2 separate regions of the Homo sapiens genome follow, and region 1 is linked to region 2. Evidence: promoter capture Hi-C in human tissues and cell types (Jung and others, 2019). All regions are on one chromosome and are shown on one strand. The core of a region is centred on a gene start or on the middle of the fragment in contact, and the rest is flanking DNA. Distances in the headings are between cores, read along the strand shown. Region 1 overlaps ARRB1 (arrestin beta 1). Region 2 holds the start of KLHL35 (kelch like family member 35).

The links. Contacts are between HindIII fragments. The study calls those that stand out against the background at their distance.
Region 1: a fragment that was not itself captured here is called in contact with the fragment with the promoter of KLHL35 in region 2 in 2 of the 25 tissues and cell types used here (H1 embryonic stem cells and pancreas).

What each region holds. Positions count from the first base shown.
Region 1 is chr11:75,303,631-75,306,614 of GRCh38, forward strand. All of the region lies in intron 1 of ARRB1 (arrestin beta 1), which reads right to left. Among named protein-coding and RNA genes, the nearest start is that of MIR326, 30 kb to the right of the region's middle. RefSeq lists an enhancer at 1-669. The HindIII fragment of the contact is 8,452 bases long and covers 1-2,984 here.
Region 2 is chr11:75,431,935-75,434,914 of GRCh38, forward strand. KLHL35 (kelch like family member 35) reads right to left here and starts at 1,269. Exons shown (of 7, transcript NM_001039548.3): 1 at 1,109-1,269. GDPD5 (glycerophosphodiester phosphodiesterase domain containing 5) reads right to left here. Exons shown (of 17, transcript NM_030792.8): 17 at 2,706-2,980. RefSeq lists an enhancer at 1-793. The HindIII fragment of the contact is 12,939 bases long and covers 1-2,980 here.

The DNA of each region.
Region 1 (2,984 bases), core at 485-2,984, 130 kb before region 2:
GTTTCCCCAGAGCACCTACAGGGCAGCGGAAGGCAGACACTCAGTGAACAAGCAAGCCCTCCCTCAAAAGCACAGTGGGAGGGTGGGAGGAGGTGCATGTGTGATGTGCCCAGTTCCGTTCCAGGCACCACCAGGCACCCAGCACACATGTGCATCTTTCCCTCCCTCTCCTGCTGGCCCCTGAGCATCCAAACAGGGCCTGCACATGGCTGCTCCTGAGTGGATGCCACGGAACTGAAATGATGGCAAACCCCAGGGAACAGAAACTGCGACTTCAGTCACTTATGTTCCTTGGTACATAGTAGGTGCTTAATAAAGATTTTGAATGAATAAACAAGAGCCAAGCCCTGAGCTTGAGGCTGGGAAAAAATAGGACCTGGGCCAAGAAGCGGCAGCCTTGCCATCTGGATGAGCACCATGGATGCGCAGTCTTGGCGGGAACCCATTAGCTATAGGGCACTCCTGACACAAGACAGGCCATTATTTTCCCAGCGGAAAGATTTTATTTAAAGGGGGTTTTTGTTTGGTTTGTTTGTTTTGCCAATTTCAACATGCAAACTTTTAAGGATATAGAATAACATATGTTAAAATAAGATATTAATTCAAAAACATCATTAATTTCTTCCTATTCTCACATTTCATAAAATGTCACAACAGATCCACTATGGCAGCATATCTCTGACTCTGTGTCCACTGCTCTGTGGATCAGTCAGTAAGCCGAGAGGGTTCTCTGTGGTCAGGGACTCCATACAGACTGAAATCTAAGGCCTAAGGTGCCAGCTTTTTCCAGGGAAATAGTTGTGGGGGAAAAAAACTGCCTTATATTTATCTGGATGGGGTGCCCACGGTGTGCTGAGCTGGCTTGTACAGGCTCATAAGAGCCAAGTGTCACATTTTTAAGAATTTTGTGAGGTAGTTGTTAAACACAGCCAGTACCGTTGGTTCTCAGCCGGGGGCGAATTTGCACCCCAGGGGACACCTGGCAATGTCTGGAGACATTGTGGGCTGTCATGATTTGGGGAAGAGGTGCTACTAACATCTAGTAGGTAGAGGCCAAGGATGCTGCCTGCATAATGCACATGTCAGTCCCCCCAAACCCCCCGCAAAGGATCTCCAGACCAAAATGTTATGGTGCTGATGCTGAGAAACCCTGCTTGGAGCAGTGGCTCATGCCTGCAATCCCAGCACTCTGGGAGGCTGAAGTGGGAGGATCGCTTGAACCCAGGAGTTTGAGACCAGGCTGGGCAACAACCTGTCTTTAAAAAGAGAGAGGAAAAAAAAAAGTTTAAAAAAAAGAAAAATAGAAATCCTAATGTGAACTTACAATTAAATAAACTCTATTAAAAGCAAAGGGAATGCATTTTCTTTTCTTTTCTTTTCTTTCTTTCTTTTTTTTTTTTTTTTTTTTTTGAGACAAGAGTCTTGCTCTGTTGCCCAGGCTAGAATGTGGAATGCAGTGACATGATCTCGGCTCACTGCAACCTCCACCTCCTGGGTTCATGCAATTCTCGTGACTCAGCCTCCCAAGTAGCTGGGATTACAGGTAATGTGCCACCACGCCCACCCAGCTAATTTTTGTATTTTTTTTTTTTTTGGTAGAGACGGAGTTTCACCATGTTGGCCAGGCTGGTCTTGAACTCCTGACCTCAAGTGATCCTCCAGCTTCTGCCTCCCAGAGTGCTGGAATTACAGGCATAAGAAACCATGCCTGGCCCAGGAATGCATTTTCAAAACTGATTACATACTAATTATTTTACTGTTGTTACTATCATACCCTCAAGGGTATTTATGCCTACTATACCTGTATGGTGGAAATGCTATACAATGGTGTCTACTGTTCATCTCTTCCCAACTGCACATTCAGTGACTTCACACTGGTAGAGTGAAATCTGAAGTCAGAGTATTTACATCACAGAAATTGGCAGATGCTAAAATCCCCCACCCTTCTTTTTTTCTGGAGGGCCAGTTGTTACCAGCACACTGTTGGGTGTAACCCTAAGTAGAGAAGATAAATTCACAAGCTTGATGAATCCTTCCCAGTTTCCAGCCTAGGCAGACGACTCAGCACCAGCCTGCTGTATGGATCAAGGATCTGAATGTGGTCGTGTGCACGCACTCTACACACCATGCACAGAAAGACATACACAAATACTAAACAGTAACACACCTGCATCACACTCCACACACACATCTTGTCTACAAACCCCCACATATACAACATGCACACAGCATATAACCGACTAAACATGCACCCCACAGTAGCCCTTCAGTCAGCAGGGGAATAATTTGAATAATGACAAACACAAGCAAAAGAATGACAACCTGACTGACCAAATTCCTTGATATCTGAGCACCTTCACCTTTACTCCCTCCTCATCCTCTGTGATCCACCCTTCCCCGCACACCCCGACACCACACTGCAAAGGCAAAGGTCTCAACCCTCACAAGAAGCACCAAACCCACTGACCCCATTTCAGTCCCGCTGGAGGCCCTGGCCACCTGACTCCCCATCCCTGCTCTGTGCCCAGCTCTCAGGAGACTCCAGAGCTGAGTCTGACCTTGGCCCCTTCCCAGAGCCCATGAAAAGGAGTTCCCTGGGCAACTCCACCCACCTGACCACTTCAGCTGCCACCGATGCCAGTAAGTCCAAACCTCGTCTCCAGCCAGACCCTCTCTGACCCCCACCCATCAGCCTTCAGACATTTCTACTCGATGTCCCCCAACTCCTTAGACAAGTCCCAAACAGCCTTCCCCCATCTCCACCCCGCACTGTTCCTCCCTGTGTTCTCCATCCCCACCTATGCCAGAGGCTGGTGCGCAGGAAGCACTCAATGCACATCTCATGGAGAGAGGAAGAAATCATGTAAATCCCAGAAAGAGAGGAAAAGCAAACTTCCTGGTGAGTCAGATAGAAAGTCTTACCCCATTTTACAGATGAGAGCCCAAAGATTCAGTGGAGTGAAGAGGCCAGCCCAGAAGCAGCG
Region 2 (2,980 bases), core at 19-2,518:
TTAGCCCACACCTGCCCCTTTAGTTTGTCATAAGGGAAACAAGCACACACAGGACACCCGCCCTTCAGAAGTTTGCGGCGAGGCTCAGCAGAGGGGTGTTTGTGAAGGCGCTCTGCAGACTGAGGGGCTGGGCCATGCTGGTTATGATTTGGCCATTATGAACACAAAACCTCTGCTTGCACACCTCCAGGGACAGGGAGCTCCCTCCTTTCCATCAGCTTACTCTAGGGGGCTCAGGTCCACCCTCTGCGCCCTGCCTCTCCTTCCATCCTCCTGCTCCCAGCTGCTCTGCTGCCTCTGGAGGTCAGATCCCGCCTAGTGTCAGCCTGGCTTTCATGCCCTGGTCATCCAGGGCAGCGGATCCCCTGGTCAGCATCATGAGAGATGAGCTCCCTGGTGGGCAAGAAAGTTAACTACTTTTGCCCAAGTAGAGCGACTGGATCCTGAATCCACCTGGCTCCAGGGTTTGCATGCCACACTTGCCAGGGTGGGGGTGTGTCCCAAGGAGCAGCCAGGACCGGTGGAAGGAAGTGAGACCGGTCATCACAGCACGCTGCAACCAGTCTGTCCTCCACTGGCTCAGAAAGCACAACCATGCTCTGAGTTGAGACTCAAGAGGGCAGGTCTCATCAGCATAAGGATGGACTTCTTGCAAAGGTGCCCCACAGCACAAGCAGCTCCCTGGGGGAGAAAGAGTCCCCTCCTAGGAAGTGTGTCAGTACTTTTTCATTTTACTGTCTACTGCGCTGGGCACTCTGGACACACAGTGACATCAGATCCAGCATTCACTCTGGGGATCCCCAGTCTGGGGGTCAAACGACACCCAGTTGGAACACAGAAGGTAAAAATTCCCAGGTAGGGCTCAATGGGTATCCTCCCTTCTCGGCTGAGTCTAGGCACTTCAAGCCAGGGGTCATGATGCAGATTGAAGGGCCCAGCCTATAGAAGCTGACTCGAACATGCCACCATCACTCTTTTACACACCCACATCCACTTGAAGCCATTACCCAAGCACCTCCTCCGCATCCTCCCCATCTCAGACTTGCGGACACCACGCAGCCGGGTCAGCCCTGCAGCCTAAGCCTTGCCCCATGCACCTGGCACTTACCTGGCCATACCCTCTCCCAAGTGCTCCGCAGCTGCTGCTCTCACAGGTATCACTCCCGTTTGTGCCTGCCGCCCGCACCCCTGGCAGCCCAAGCTCCAGTGTTCATGCTGCTCTGCCCAGACTCCCGTTTGCTGTTCGCTCGGGCTCAGCTGCGGGAGGACAAAGGGGCTGGACGCCAGGAGGGAGGGGAAGGGAGGGGAAGGGAGAAGCGAGCAGGGAGGGGGATGCTGGGCTTTTGTTCCACTCTTGGACTAGCCCTGGGAGGGAGGGAAAGAAAGGGGGGGCATAAGAGTGGGATTGACTGTGTGTGGAACTCCAGGATTTGGTATGCCTGGGTTTGGGGGTGACCTGGTGCTGGCCTTGTCCCGGAATGACGATGGGTTCGAAGGTGTGTGGTGCTGGAGTTGGGGTGTGGGAGGGGTGTCATCATGCAGTTGTAGGCATGTAGGTTTCAGGGTGACTATGCGTGATTGTGGAAGTACATGGAATGAAGTGACTGTGTAGCATTGGGCTGCGTGTGGACATGTGGCTGTGTGACCATGTAGATGCCAATGTGACTAAGCATGTGGGGCGGGGGGCACAGTGGCTCTGAGTCTCATTCCCTTGAGCTCAGGGAGAGGCGGGAGCTGACCTCTGCCCCAGGAAGCAGAGCACTTGCCAGACATTCAGTAGCAGGGGCAGGAGGGCCGGTCCTCGAGGTTACTGTGGGGGCCCAGTGGAGCTTCCAACATTTGCAGAGGGCTCTTTTCTTTTTTACCTATAAGGTGCCAGAATCTCCTAGACCCCAAGAATTCTATCCAGAAGATCCCTGTTTGGAAGAGACACGTCCCTTGGCTCCCAGGAAGCATGGAGTTAATTTGATGCAGGCTGGAGCTGGGGCTCAGCTTCCCCCTTTTCCCTCAGGTCACACCCATGACCAGGCAGACTCTCAGGACAAAGAGGGGAGTTACAGGCCTGCTCTGACACCACCACTGACTCCTGCCCACAGACAGCAGAGGTCCCAAGGACTGGAAGGAAAGGACACCTGTGGTCCCAGGGCTGTACTTTGGCTTTCAGCTCAGGTGCCCCCAGTCCTGGGCATGGGCATGGGCCCTCCTCAGGCAGGTCCAAAGCTCGGAGAAGTCAAAGCCAAACTCCTGGCATGGGGAAGAGGCCTCCCTGTGCTGAGGGCTTGTCCCAACATAGCCGGGAGGTTCAGAATGCCTTCATGTGGCTGTGAGGGCACCTGCCAGTCCCACTCCCAGCCCTACATTGGACCCAGGAGCCCTCCCCCTCTGCGTGTCATTCCTAGCTTATGGGAGGCACACATATGCGCTGGGGCCAGAGTCTGGATGGGATTCTGGCTTGGCCTGTTCTAAGCTGTGTGGCTTTTGGAGGTCACTTTACCTCTCCAAGACTGTCTCCCCATCCACCATATGAGGATACCGGCTCCCAGCCACTGGCACCATGGCGGACCCAGGGAAGGGGAGGCACCATTCTGCCACTTTCCCATTCATTCCTGAGAATGGTTCCTCCTCAGATTATAGGGTCAGAACTGAAACCTAGACCCAGCGCACTTGTCCCCACCCTCCTGCTGGCAATTCAGAGACAACACACATCAAGATGGCAGCTTTAATCACATTGGCCAAGGGCCCTAGGTTCCCTCTGTTCAGGCCCACTTAGCCACACACCCACCCTGGCCATATCCAGAACACTTCTACCAGGTGGGCCCTGCCCTGTGGCCACTGATGTGGGAACCTGAGGTCACATCAGTCTGTGGACTCCTGGGTTAGGTGACCCTTCTGCCTTGAGGTCTGCTGGACACCTGGGCATGGGATCCAGTAGTCCTGAGCTCACTCTTTTGGCCATCTCCAGCTGCTCCTAGAGGACGTG